Regions from separate parts of the Homo sapiens genome. Here regions 2, 3, 4 and 5 are each linked to region 1. Evidence: promoter capture Hi-C in 16 types of primary human blood cells and fetal thymus (Javierre and others, 2016). All regions are on one chromosome and are shown on one strand. The core of a region is centred on a gene start or on the middle of the fragment in contact, and the rest is flanking DNA. Distances in the headings are between cores, read along the strand shown.

Region 1 (2,627 bases), core at 78-2,577:
TCCCAGCACTCTGGGAAGCCGAGGCGGGAGGATCGCTTGAGCCCGGGAGCTGGAGATCAGCCTGGGCAACATAGTGAGACTTTGTCCCTACAAAAAAGTGAAAAAAAAATTAGCCGGTCGTAGTGGTGCGCGCCTGTGGTCCCAGCTATTCGGGAGGCTGAGGCGGGAGGATCGCTTGAACCTGGGAGTTGGAGTTTGCAGTGAGCTATGATCGCGCCACTGCATTCCAACCTGGGCGACAGAGTGAGACCCCTGTCTCAATTAGGAAAAAAAAAAAAAAAAAAAAAAAAAAAGGCTGGGCCGCGCCTGCGCACTAGCCATAGGGGCGGGGAGGTCAACGCGAGGCCGAGAGTGCTGTGGTGCCAGAGAAGGCGTGTCTGTTTCCCAAACAACCACTGTCCCCACGGCGCCTGTCTGTCCCAAGGTTGGTCGGTATGCCGCGAGTGACGGCGTCTCTTAACCAATCACCGCAGAACTCAGGCTGTTGCCGGGGCGAAGCGGTGTCCGCCTCCCCCGGAAGGGTATTTGTAGGTGGGTGGGACCGGAAGTGACGCTACAGGGGCCAGCTATGCTCCCGGGAGTGTTGATGTTTTCCAGTCATTCCGGCTGACAGCGTTCAAGTTGGAATCCTGGAGGGGAGGTGTTTTTCCTGTCGTACGTGGGACAGGCCACGCTGTCCGTCCGCAGTACCGACGCCTGCAGGTCAGAGCTTCGGGGAGAAAAGTGAAGAGCAAGACGGAACTGACGGGGAGAAAGGCTGGGAACCAGGGTGTCGACTTTGACTGAAATTTGAGACGGAGGGCACCGGAGGGCGAGCACTCGCCTGTGATTGGCCCGTGGGCGTCGTCGAGGTCCCACGCAGCTGCTCAATTGGTTGGTGTTGCAATTGTTGTGGCGGCGGCGGCGGCGATTTTGCCCACGTACTTCCGAGTAAGGGGCGGGGCTGTGCCCTGGCGCGCGTGCGCAGCGCCCCGGGGCCCCACCCGGTAGTGCAAGAACCTGCGAGGGGGCGGAGCGAAGAGGTGCTTGTTTTGGTTCTGTTTCCTTTGAAGCAGAAGGCCGGAACAAGCGTAGCAATAAACTTGCTGGACTTGGAGAGAAGGCTAAGACAAACTCGCCGCACTGCCTTCATCTTGGACTTTACATCCGGGTTCTCCTCTCGGCGTGACCCGCGCGCCGCCACCGCCGCCGCCGCCGCCGCCGCCTCCTCCGCCGCCGAGGGTTCTCGAACCGGTGCCGCGATCCCTTTATCCGGGTCTCGCCGTTCCCGTCGTGCCTCGCGCACTACACTAGCCCCCTCATCCGGGTTCTCTCCCGGCGTGCCCCGCGCCGGGTTTGTTGGGGGGTACTCGGCAGTGCAGCCATGACTATACTCCCCAAAAAGAAGCCGCCGCCTCCCGACGCCGACCCCGCCAACGAGCCGCCGCCGCCCGGGCCGATGCCCCCGGCGCCGCGGCGCGGCGGAGGTGTGGGCGTGGGCGGCGGCGGCACGGGCGTGGGCGGCGGCGATCGCGACCGTGACTCCGGCGTCGTGGGGGCCCGTCCGCGAGCTTCGCCACCGCCTCAAGGCCCGCTACCAGGACCGCCGGGCGCTCTTCATCGCTGGGCGCTGGCCGTGCCGCCTGGTGCAGTGGCGGGTCCCCGGCCACAACAGGCTTCTCCACCTCCTTGCGGGGGCCCAGGTGGTCCCGGCGGCGGTCCCGGCGACGCGCTGGGCGCAGCGGCGGCGGGTGTGGGTGCCGCGGGCGTGGTGGTGGGTGTGGGTGGTGCCGTAGGCGTGGGCGGCTGCTGCTCCGGGCCTGGGCACAGCAAGCGGCGACGTCAAGCTCCCGGGGTTGGCGCGGTTGGCGGGGGCAGTCCCGAGCGTGAGGAGGTCGGCGCAGGCTACAACAGTGAGGACGAGTATGAGGCGGCTGCAGCACGCATCGAGGCTATGGACCCTGCCACTGTCGAGCAGGTAAGAGCTGTGGGGTGAGGGGTGAGCGGCCACGGCAGATGGGACCCCCAGACTGTGAAGGGACTCAAGGAAGGCTGTTTGAGATCGCCCCAAGGGATCTAGGCGTTTTCACTGGGCCTGACAGTCTTCTCTGGCGGTAGGGATGTGAGACACCTTCTTTCCTCCCCTCCAGGATTTTGGGGCTAGAGGCCTACGGTAAGGTGTCAGACTTAAAGATCCGAGGTCTCTTTTAAGGTCTATAGTCGTCATTCCAGTCCCTGGGACCTCATCATATAGGGCCAATAGGTGGGAATTCTCCAAGAGATACAGGTAGGATCGCGCCCCTCTTGAGTAGGAGTCTCAGGTCTCCCAAGAGACTTAGGTATGTGTTCAGTGGCTTAAGAGCTCTTTTCCTCTGGGATAGAAGTTTGAGATTCCCCTTCCAGGAAAGTCAAATAAGGTGGAGACCTCGGAGATCGGGGCTGAACATCCCCAAGGAGCCTAAGCCCTTTCAAGAGTCTGAGACACTCTGCATATAGGACAATCCTCTCCCGCTTCGCTGGGTAACACTGCACAGGACCACTGAATAGCCAGACCTGAGACCTCAAGGGTCCTAAGTCTGTCTTCAGGGGCCTGAGAGTCCTGCTTCTAGAATCAAGGTCCTGACACACACACACACACACACGCCCCC
Region 2 (2,627 bases), core at 128-2,627, 440 kb after region 1:
GAGGCCAGGAATTCAAGTCCGGCCTGGGCAACACAGCGAAACTGTCTCTAAAAAAATAAGAAAATCAGTCAGGTGTGGTGACAAAGGCCTGTAGTCCCAGCTAGTAGGTAGGCTGAGGCAGGAGGATCGCTTTGAGCCCAGGACTTCAAGGCTGAAGTGAGCAGTGACCACATCACTGCCCTCCAGTCTGAGACTCTGCCTCTAAAAAAGAAGGCCGGGCGCGGTGGCTCACGCCTGTAATCCCAGCACTTTGGGAGGCCAAGACGAGTGGACCACTTGAGCTCAGGAGTTCAAGACCAGCCCGGCCAACATGGCAAAACCCCGTCTCTACTAAAAATACAAAAATTAGCCAGGTGTGGTGGCGTGCGCCTGTAGTTACAGCTACTCAGGAGGCTGAGGCAGGAGAATCGCTTGAACCTGGGAGGCAGAGGCTGCAGTGAGCCGGGGTCATGCCACTGCACTCCAGCCTGGGCAACAGAGCGAGACTCTGTCTCAAAATAAAATAAAAAAGAAAAGAAAAAGAACATGACTGAAACACAAGGCCACAGAAAGGCTGAAAGCTTGTTCCAGCCCTTTAGAAGCCATATTATGATGTGGTAGAAACAGTCCCGGTCTCAGCCCTCGGGGGTCAAAGTCTGGTGGGAGGCACATGGGAACAACACCTGATCCCAGCCCTCCCTGGTCACAGTCTGGCGAGGGAGATACAGGACCAGGCCTGGTGTCTTCCTTCAAGGGTCACAAACTGCTCACGACCACCAAACCCAGTCCTGTGCTCCGGGGTCACGGTTTGGTAAGAGACACAGGAACCAGGCGTGGTCCAGTTGCACAGGTCAGCGTCTTAAACCGTTCAACAAAAAGCTATTCCCTCCCCCACGTAGTCCTGAAAACTGCAACTGGGGGACAGAGGAAAGAAAACGAATCAGAACTACAACCCTCGGTGCCAGCGTTTGGAAAGCCAGAGCCTCCCCGCGAGAGCGTGCAACGCCGTCAACCTGCAGGGAAGAGACGGATATTGAAAGGCCGGTGTCTGGCGTGCAGCGCTAGAACGGAACACAAAGCCGGTCAATCCGAACCAGAACCCTCCAGTCCCGCTGCCCAATGAGAAGACGGATCTTCTGTCCTCTGGACAACCGTGCGGTAGCTGGGGGTCTCGCGCAGGCGCAAAAGGGCGGTGGGGGGGGCGGGTGGCAAAGGGTCTCGCGCTGGCACGCCGAGGGCTGGCCGCGTAGCCGGGGAGAGCTGGGGGAGGGAGCAGGGGCCGGGTGGAGGGCACTCACCAAGGCGCGCGACGGCAGCGGCCTCCCACGCTGGCTCCGGGCTCTCTTTAGGCTGGGTCTCGCGCTCTGTCACATCCCTAGTTCGGGCTCATCCCCTAGTGGGTTCTCTTGCCTTACGGAGCGAGCCAATGGTGAAGCGAAGAAGGCGGCCCGTGCCGCTCCCAACCAATAGACACTCTCTTTGTACCTCTAGCCCCGCCCCCGCGCGTGGCGCCATTTTCACCTGAGTTAGGTTTGGGGTGGAGACTGGGACGCGCCAAGGTTAGTGGGCGTTTTGGATCCGTAGCCAATCTGCATCGAGTCCTGGCTTCAATTTCCCCATTCCCTTATCAGTCGATCAAAACGGGGACTCATTAAGGTCTGTACCCGCTTCTTCCGCTGGTGAAATTAGCGTTGCGTTGCATCCTTTCACCTCCGCCCTTTTCTAGGTAGAGTAACCCTTAGTATAATGCAACGAAACTGTTACAAGCAGATCACACGCTATACACTGCAACCACCCCCTCCCCAGCTCTTCAGTGCTCAGAACTCCTCAGTCCTAATAGCAGCGGTCATTCTCTCTTCTCCCGACCTCAAGTCAGAAGAACTAGTTAGAACCCAGGCCTCTCAGTCCTACTGACCAATTGGCATGAAGACCCTCAATCTCCATATGCCAGTTCTAAAAAGCCAATCAAACGCCTAACCACCAGTGGGCCCCCAGATGGAGCAATCAATCAGAATCCAGACCCATCCCAGACCTCCCATCCAATTAGAACCCACAACCCTCAGTCCTAAGGATAAATAGGCACCAACCCTTCATCTCTCTTGCTTTCTCTCCTCTGTGTCCCACTCAGAGCAACCAATCAGAATGGGGATCCTTCAGTTTTCCAGCCAATCAGGCCTCCCCCACATCCAACTATGCAATCTGTCCCTGCCCTGATCAAACCAAGCAGGACCAGGATCCTGCCATCTTCAGGCTCATCATCTAATCAATCATAAACTAACCATGAACCAATCACAGTCTGCTCTCTCTTCATGGTTTCCAGCTTCCAAACCTTTATCCATGCTGTGCTCCCTTCCTCACTCATTCCTATTCCCCTCTGAGCAGTGAAGAAGAAGCCTATTGAATATTTCCTACTTTTATTTGACAATAACAAATTGTATATAAAAAGGAAGAAGGAAGGCGGGGAGGCCCTGGATCTCCCCTTCTCTGTTTCCCCAAGCATCCCCCTCTAGGCCCCAGCAGGCACCACCCCCTTCCTGCCTTGTGGTGGGGTGGGGATTGACAGGCATGAAAATGGTGTGATTTTGTGTGTGTGTGTGTGTGTGTGTGTTGAGGTGTTGGGGGTCAAGGATGGAGGGGGTCAAGGAGTA
Region 3 (2,627 bases), core at 59-2,558, 320 kb before region 1:
CTATTTCCTTTTTCTTTTTAATGCTTGTTGAAACCCAGTAAATTGATTTCACAACTCAATAAAGGGTTAGGATATGCAATTTTGAACAATTCCAGCTCTGCCACCTATCAGCTGTGTGACCTGGGGCAAGTTACTTAACCTCTCTGTGCCTCAGTTACCTCATCTCTAAGGAGGGGATAATAATACCTACATCAGTGAGTTGTTCAGCAGATCAAAGAAATATTTGAAAAGTACCTATAAAGCACTTAACAGTAACCCCCTCCAAATTTCCATTGAGGGAAACTGAAGCTCTGAAAGGAAAGCAACTTGCCCAGTGTTGCCCTGCTGGTAAAATGCATCACCCAGCCTGGTACAGTAGCTAAGAGCTGGAGCACTAGAGCAGGACCACACAGGCTCAGATCCCAGCTCTGCCACTTTCTTAGCACGTGGCCTCAGGCCCATGTCCTTAACCATAATGCCCTACCAAGTTTTCTGTGGCATAAAAGAGGATCACGTTCACATTAATTCCTCACTCTACAGAAAACTAAGATGCCCCTGACTTGTCCCGTTCAACTCCAGTTATTCTGGTTTCCCCTGAGGCTGCCAACTCAGATAGCAGGTTGGATCCCCATCCCTTCAGTTATAGGTGCACTGAAAGACAGTGGGCCTTCCTGTGCATCAGCCCCAGTGACGGATCCTGGAGACACCATGGTGAGCAAACCCAACTAGGAAGCTTACAATTCAGTATGGAGGAAGACATTAAAAAAATACTCAAACTCATTATTTCAACAAACATTTATTGAGCACCTGCTAAGTGCCAGGCACTGTGGCAGGCCTGCAGGAATACAGTGGTGAATGAAAGCAGACCATGTCCCTACCCCTCACGGAGCTTACAGTCTAGCGGGGCAGAGAGTCATCCAGCAACCCCCTAATAAAGATATAACTACAAACTGCGATCAGTGCCTTTAGAAAAGGAAAGAATGCCCTAGAATAAGGGTCCCTGGCCCAATCTACAGGGTCAGGCAGGGCTTACTTAAGGATGCTGAAAAGCAAAACGAGCAAGTGGGGAGGTAGGGGAGTGAGAGGCTGCTTGGGAACACTGTGGGAGAGGTGATGAATGCAGTCCCCGACAAGGTGAGTTTGAGGAATTATTTGGGCCATCAGTCAAGTGGAGATGCCGAGTTTGGATACATGAAGCTAAGGGAAGAGCCAGGAGAAAGAGAAGGGCCAGAGAGTTAAGAGGAAAACCAGCAGAGTGTGGTCTCAAGGCAAGGGAAGACAAAGTGTTTTAAGTAGGAGTGGTCAACCACTTCAAGAGGAAAACTAAAAAACCACCTGCAGAATCTGGCAGATGCCGGGGGCTAACACTTACGGGGGTGAGCAAGTGCAGAAGGCAAGTACAGGCAACTCTGCAGGGGTCAGCAGTGAAGGGGAGGGTGATGAGGTGCTGGCCAGAAGCAGGAGGGAGAGAACGTGGGGTCAGCGGAGACAGAAGGGATGCTGGCACAGGCAAAGGTGAATAGAGGATCAAGCAAGGAGGGCAGCAGAAAACCTGCCAGGAGAGAAAAGGTGACTGATGATGTCAGATTCTAGAGCAAGTAGCAGAAACTGGGACCCAGAGCACAGGAGGGAGAAGTGGCCTGAGCAAGAAGGGACTCCTCGTCATCTGTAACACAGGGGAGGGAAATCAGCGTGCAGACTTGGGGGCCACAAGTTATAGGGAGTTCCATTCTTATGGCTTCTGTTTTGTTTTTTGAAGCAGGAGAGAAAGTCTGAAGGTAAAGAACATTTGAAAGAGTCACTTCAGAGGAGAAACGAGTGGATCAAAAAAATATAGTAGAACTGCTAGGCAGGGTGGCCGATGACCCCTCGACTGGTGGCGATGTTCATCTGCTCTGCCATGGGACATTCTCTAACAAAGCTTAGCACGTGCTGGGCTGATGAGTGCTATGAAAAAGCCAGGGGCCCGAGGACACTGGGGTGGACAGGCTCCCCTGGGGAAGTCCTCTTAGAACTGAGGGATCAACACTGGAGGAGACTGCAAGGGGTACGGGATAAATGTTCCTGGTGAAGGAAACAGCAGGGGCAAAGGCCCTGCAGCAGAAAGGAGCGAGGCCCTTTGGAGTAACAGAAAGACCATGGTGACAGGAGCTCAGAAAGACCACTGGTGTTAAGACTATGAGCCAGTGGAGGCCAGATTGGGGAATGGGATGGGAGGGTGCTTGAAGACCATGGTGAGGCTCTCTTGGTCTTTACTTTTAAGAAGAATAGGACACTTCCAAAGGGTAGTGTCAAGTGCCAAGGAAGATCAGGAGGGCTTTTCCCCACACCAGCCCTAGGACTTTGGACTCTGGGAGCCTCAGTTTGCTCATCCAGGAAAGAGAAATTTAAAACCCTCTACTTCACAGGGAATGTTGTCGGAATTAAACCAGACCTTGCATGAAAATATAGTACTCAGTGAAGTGCCTGGCGAAGAGCAGGGGCTCAGCCAGGTCTCATACAACAAATCCTCTGTACTCCATCCCACAAGCCCTGTGACATCTTAGGACCACTCTGCATCTCTTTCCCTGCTGGAACCTAGCACTGTGCCCAGCACACAGTAGGCAGTCAATAAATGCTTGTCGATGAATCATCTCTAAGCTTTAGAG
Region 4 (2,627 bases), core at 46-2,545, 280 kb before region 1:
GATGGGGACTGAGGAAACAGGCCAGGAGAGAAAGAAAGCCTTTTTCCTTTTTTTTTTTTTTTTTTTTTGAGACAGGGTCTCGCTCTGTCGCTCAGGCTGGAGTGCAGTAGCGTGATCTTGGCTCACTGGAACCTCTGCCTCCTGGGCTCAAGTGATCCTCCCACGCAGCCTCCCGAGTAGCTGGGATTACAGGTGCATGCCACCACACCCGGCTAATTTTTGTATTTTCAGTGTAGACAGGGCTACACCATGTTGGCCAGGCTGGTCTCAAACTCCTGGGCTCAAGCAATCTGCCCACCTCAGCCACCCAAAGTGCTGGGATTACAGGTGGGAATCACCACACCCGGCCTAGGAAAGCCTTTTTCTTCCAGAGTTGCCACTGCTTTGGAACTGCATAGACTCTGAAAGCAGACTTCCTGGATTCAAACCCAAGCTTTGCCTCTTACCAACTATACGACCTCAGGCAGATCACTTAATCCCTCTGTGCTTCACTTTCTTCATCTGAAAGAGGGTATACCAACAGTACATATAGCAGAAGGTTGTCCTGAGAATTAAATGAGTTAACACCATGTTACTTACCACAGGGCCTGGCACAGAGTACACTTAGAAGCCATCATTATTCTATACTTAGGAGTATACTGGGTCACAATGCAAGATATATTTATTTTGGAGGCTCAAGGTCAAATAAGTATAACCACTGGCTTTTAAGGTATTTTACTTTGGATTTTTTCCACAATATGCAATCAAAGAGCTGTGACTGATATAGAAACTCATTCCAGGAGTGGGGAAGGTGCCAAAATATGGAGGTGGCTAAGGTGCAGAAACTGTTGCCAGGAGCAGGGCATATGAAGAAAAGATGCCAGAACATGGCAGTGCTGAGTTGCGGGGGGGCTACAGGGACAGCACACAGCTGGATTAAGAGAACTCCTTTTGCCTGCTGCTGATAAACCAAGGCTGCTGGGGGCCAGACAACCATATGTACCTGTTTTTTATTTTTTTGGAAACAAGAGTCTTGCTCTGTCGCTCAGGCTGGAGTGCAGTGGTGCAATCTCGACTCACTGGAACCTCCGCCTCCTGGGTTCAAGCGATTCTCCTGCCTCAGCCTCCTGAGTAGCTGGGATTACAGGCACACACCACCACACCAGGCTAATTTTTGTATTTTTAGTAGAGACAGGGTTTCGCCAGGTTGGCCAGGCTGGTCTCAAACTCCTGACCTCTGGTGAGATCTGCCCGCCTCCACCTCCCAAAGTGCTGGAATTACAGGAGCCACCGTCCCCAGTCTTTTTTTTTTTTTTTTTTTTGGAGATGGGGTTTCACTCTGTTTCCCAAGCTAGAGTGCAGTGGCGCAATCACAGCCCACTGCAGCCTGGACCTCCCAGGCTCAAGCAATCCTCCTACCTCAGCCTCCCACATAGCTGGGACCACAGGCGTGTGCCACCATGCCCAGCTATTTTTTTTTTATTTTTTGTAGAGATGGGGGTCTCACTATGTTGCCCAGGCTGATCTCGAGCTCCTGGGCTCAACTGATCCTCCCACCTCAGACTCCCAAAGTGCTGGGATTACATGCAAGAGCCAACGTGCCCAGCCCACATGTACCTCCTGGCCACTGGAAAAGCCATAGTCACTAACCCCCACTAAAATCAATGTAAGCAAAAGCAGGTGAACAAAATCCAAGAGAGACAGCACTGAGGGAAGAACAGAGAACTGCAGGAAGCCTGAGCCCCCACCTCAACACCTCCTGCTGTGTACTCTCCTCTGCAAACAGAAGACATAACTTCCCCCCTATTAAGTGCTAACCTTAAGAATACATACAGTCCTGGGCCAGGGGACAGACTGCCTGCCTCATAAGGCCACCAAGAGCCCCAGAGAGAACAATGTGACAACTCCTGAGAGCTGGGTGAACCTGAGAGCGAAGGGATGGATGGAGCTCTGAGACCTGTTGCTAAGAGACAGAGACTGCATAAGCAAGGCCCAAATTTAACAACTCTAGCCACCCAGTCCCCTATATCTAAATGAAAGTTTTCACGGTAGTTACTCTATCGTCCCTCCACCACCATATACTTCCTGGGTCAGTTCAAAGTGTTTCCATTCACTATGTATTCACAGGTTCCAGATCGGACCTATCCAATAATAGTAATCCCATTTATGCAAAGCTTATTATAACCAGCTTTTCACACATTAACTCATGTTTAATCCTCACAGCAACCCTATACAGTAGCTACAATTCTTATACCCATTTTACACATGTGGAAACTTAGCCTCAAAAAGGTTAAGAGAGCCAGACGCGGTGGCTCACACCTGTAATCCCAACACTTTGGGAGGCTGAGGTGGGTGGATCACAAGGTCAGGAGTTCGAGACCAGCCTGGCCAAGATGGTGAAACCCTGTCTCCACTAAAAATACAAAAAAATTAGCCGGGCACAGTGGCAGACACCTGTAATCCCAGCCACTCGGCAGGCTGAGGCAGGAGAATTGCTGGAACCCAGGAGGCGGAGGAGGTTGCAGTAAGCCGAGATTGTGCCACTGCACTCCAGCCTGGGCTTCAAAAAAAAAAAAGACTGGCCCAAAGTCACAGAGTGAGTGAGCCAGGGGGAGTGGCATTACTTGCAGCTCTTGAATACAGGAACT
Region 5 (2,627 bases), core at 46-2,545, 270 kb after region 1:
TGGAGAGAGTTATGGTTTAGGAGTTTGGTGGATATTTGATAGCCTTGGGATCTGGAAGTTATGCTGGGTCCATCTTTATGGGTTTAAAAGGATGAATTTGGGGCTTAAACCTAGAAAGTTCAGGTCAGGGGATTGTGGAAAAGACTTTTTGCTTAAGAACTACCTCGGTATTTGAGTGTTCAGGAATTTTAATATGGGAACTCTGGGGTCTGTGCTGTGGATTTAGAAGGACAGATTTGGAGTTCAAGGATCAATGGAATATTCAACTTTGGGGTTTGTTGAACAGATTTATGACTTAGGAGCTTGGCAAACATCTGGGGTTCAGGAGTTTTGATGAGAGATTCCTGGGATGCAAAATGTTGAGTTTAGAATAGATTTGAGGTTCAGGTACAAATACAGTGCTCATTTATTGGAATTTGTGGAAAAGATTAGGCTTAGGCAGCAGACTAATACTGGGGGCTTTAGAGATCTTGATACGGAGACTGGGGCCAGTCATTGCAGACTTAGAAAGGCAAGTCAGAGTTTGCCATCTGGATGAGTCTTTGGTTCTGGGGCTCAGGGATTCACTGATCAGGTCTGAGGTCTTGAAGCTATGGACACATATGGACACAGATCTGGGTTTGCGGGTTGAGAACTGGCTTGCAAGTCCAGTCGGGGGTGGGGGGGTCACCTGAAGGCCGTAAAGGCGGATGAAGTAGGACTTCTGGGGGTTATCCTTCACGAAGCACACAGCCCCACAATGCTCCTTGGTCCAGTGCTCAGCTCCAGGGGGCAGCGCCAGGTACAGCTGAACAACTGCAGTGGCCAGCGTCTGGGAGAGGAAAGCAGGGGTCAGTGGAGTCTGGTCAGGGGTAGCCACAAGGTCTTGGAGCCAGACCTGGTCCTTCCTGCCTCATGACAGTCATGGGCCCAAAGGAAGAGCTGCAGCCAGAGGGAAGGCAAGTAGACATTGAGATCTTCCTGGGAAGGGTGGATTATGACGGGAAATTCTAGGAGAGGAGATGATGGAGAGGGAAAGGAGGAGCGGGAGGAGGGGAAGAGAGAGAAGGAGGAGAGGAAGAGGAAGAAACGGTGGGGACGGGGCGGGGGCAGGAGATCCCCAGCTCACCAAGCATTTTCGTCCAAGCATCTCAAAGAGTCGCTGGTTCTCGTGGTCCTGGAGGAGGGTGGAGGGTATGTTCTGCTGAACCGCTGGTGCTCCTCGGCCCCCGGGCCTTCCTCCCATTGGGCCCCCACTCATGGTGCTTTCTGCCCTTGTCTTCTCTGGCGAGGCTCTGGGTGCAGGGTAAGAAGAGGAACTTCCGCAATGAGCAGCAAGGGAACAGGAAATGCAAAAAACCACAAGGGACAAGGGAAACAAGTCCTCCAGGGGCCCCTTGGTGGGCCTGGCCTCCTCGTTAGGCTGAGCTTGGGCCCTCCGCCATCAGATTGGAACCCTCCTCCACTTGACTGCTTAGACCCACCTTTTGGATCAGCTTGGGTCCTCCTCCCCCTTTCTTACTCTCTGGGGCCCATCTCCTTCTGACTGGCTCAGACCCTCCTCCCTCTGGCTGGCAGCGAGAGCTTAGCACATCTGTGTGCAGGGCTCCCTGTGGCAAGGAGTAGTCATGGGCCTGGGTGGCCTCCTTTCTAAAGCACCTAGGTAGCCTGAGGCTGAGGCCCGAGGTCCCTAGTCCGGAAGGGTTACTACAGTAAAACTTTTCCTTTTGGCTGGGGACAATAGCTCACACCTGTAATCCCAGCACTTTGGGAGGCCGAGACGAGTGGATCACTTGAGGTCAGGAGTTCAAGACGAGCCTGGGCAACATGGCAAAACCCCATTTCCACTAAAAAATACAAAAATTAGCCAGGCATGGTGGCACACACCTGTAGTCCTAGCTGCTCAGGAGGCTGAGGCAGGAGAATCGCTTGAACCCAGGAGGCGGAGGTTGCAGTGAGCTGAGACTGCACCACTGCACTCCAGCCTGGATGATGACAGAGCAAGACCCTTGTCTCAAAAACAGCAACAACAACAACACAACAAAAACCCTTTTCCTTTTAATTACAGAGCGAGCCCCTGTGATCCACGCCTATCGTGAGTGCTTAGACACTGCCAATGACGCATATGCCTCTGGTCCACTTCCCCATCCCTTACCCTTGCCTCCCCGCAGCTCCCAAATTACTTTCTGCTTGTCATACTTTTTTTTTTCTTTTTTTTTTTGAGATGGAGTCTCACTCTGTCGCCAGGCTGGAGTGCGGTGGCACGATCTCGGCTCACTGCAACCTTTGCCTCCCGGGTTCAAGTGACTCTCCTGCCTCAGCCTCCCAAGTAGCTGGGACTACAGGCACACGCCACCACGCCCAGCTAATTTTTTTGTATTTTTAGTAGAGACAGGGTTTCACCATGTTGGCCAGGATGGTCTCGATTTCTCGACCTCGTGATCCACCTGCCTCGGCCTCCCAAAGTATTAGAATTACAGGCGTGAGCCACCGTGCCCAGCCCATCCCTTTTTTAAAGAAAGGAACTTTATATCATATATGAATGCCTGAACAACATCTTGTTTAGTTTTCATTGCACTTGAAGTTTGTAAAAGCACATAATCTTCAAAGGCTTGCTTTCTCCCCACTGGACATCCTAGTTTTATCTT

What was found. Contacts are between HindIII fragments. The CHiCAGO score rates a contact against its expected background, and 5 or more counts as called.
Region 2: the fragment with the promoter of EBP here is called in contact with the fragment with the promoter of OTUD5 in region 1 in 2 of 17 cell types (neutrophils and naive CD4 T cells); the score reaches 7.7 in neutrophils.
Region 3: a contact is called between a fragment that was not itself captured here and the fragment with the promoter of OTUD5 in region 1, in 1 of 17 cell types (neutrophils). The highest score is 6.1, in neutrophils.
Region 4: a fragment that was not itself captured here is called in contact with the fragment with the promoter of OTUD5 in region 1 in 1 of 17 cell types (non-activated CD4 T cells); the score reaches 5.1 in non-activated CD4 T cells.
Region 5: the fragment with the promoter of WAS here is called in contact with the fragment with the promoter of OTUD5 in region 1 in 4 of 17 cell types (non-activated CD4 T cells, activated CD4 T cells, M1 macrophages and 1 more); the score reaches 7.0 in non-activated CD4 T cells.

The regions. Positions count from the first base shown.
Region 1 is chrX:48,956,307-48,958,933 of GRCh38, reverse strand. It overlaps OTUD5 (OTU deubiquitinase 5), which reads left to right and starts at 1,327. Exons shown (of 9, transcript NM_001136157.2): 1 at 1,327-1,957. The coding sequence starts at 1,364. RefSeq lists an enhancer at 581-770 and silencers at 871-1,030, 1,231-1,280, 1,651-1,710. The HindIII fragment of the contact is 4,109 bases long and covers 1-2,627 here.
Region 2 is chrX:48,520,558-48,523,184 of GRCh38, reverse strand. EBP (EBP cholestenol delta-isomerase) reads right to left here and starts at 1,377. Exons shown (of 5, transcript NM_006579.3): 1 at 1,278-1,377. It overlaps PORCN (porcupine O-acyltransferase), which reads right to left. Exons shown (of 15, transcript NM_203475.3): 15 at 2,377-2,627. RefSeq lists silencers at 1,093-1,272, 1,333-1,562, 2,477-2,536. The HindIII fragment of the contact is 9,622 bases long and covers 563-2,627 here.
Region 3 is chrX:49,273,901-49,276,527 of GRCh38, reverse strand. All of the region lies in intron 1 of PPP1R3F (protein phosphatase 1 regulatory subunit 3F), which reads right to left. Among named protein-coding and RNA genes, the nearest start is that of PPP1R3F, 5.4 kb to the right of the region's middle. The HindIII fragment of the contact is 1,188 bases long and covers 715-1,902 here.
Region 4 is chrX:49,238,928-49,241,554 of GRCh38, reverse strand. The region is part of intron 2 of CCDC22 (CCC complex scaffolding subunit CCDC22); the gene reads right to left. Among named protein-coding and RNA genes, the nearest start is that of CCDC22, 4.8 kb to the right of the region's middle. The HindIII fragment of the contact is 1,720 bases long and covers 436-2,155 here.
Region 5 is chrX:48,682,467-48,685,093 of GRCh38, reverse strand. It overlaps WAS (WASP actin nucleation promoting factor), which reads right to left and starts at 1,295. Exons shown (of 12, transcript NM_000377.3): 1 at 1,109-1,295; 2 at 671-811. The coding sequence starts at 1,240. The HindIII fragment of the contact is 18,512 bases long and covers 1-2,627 here.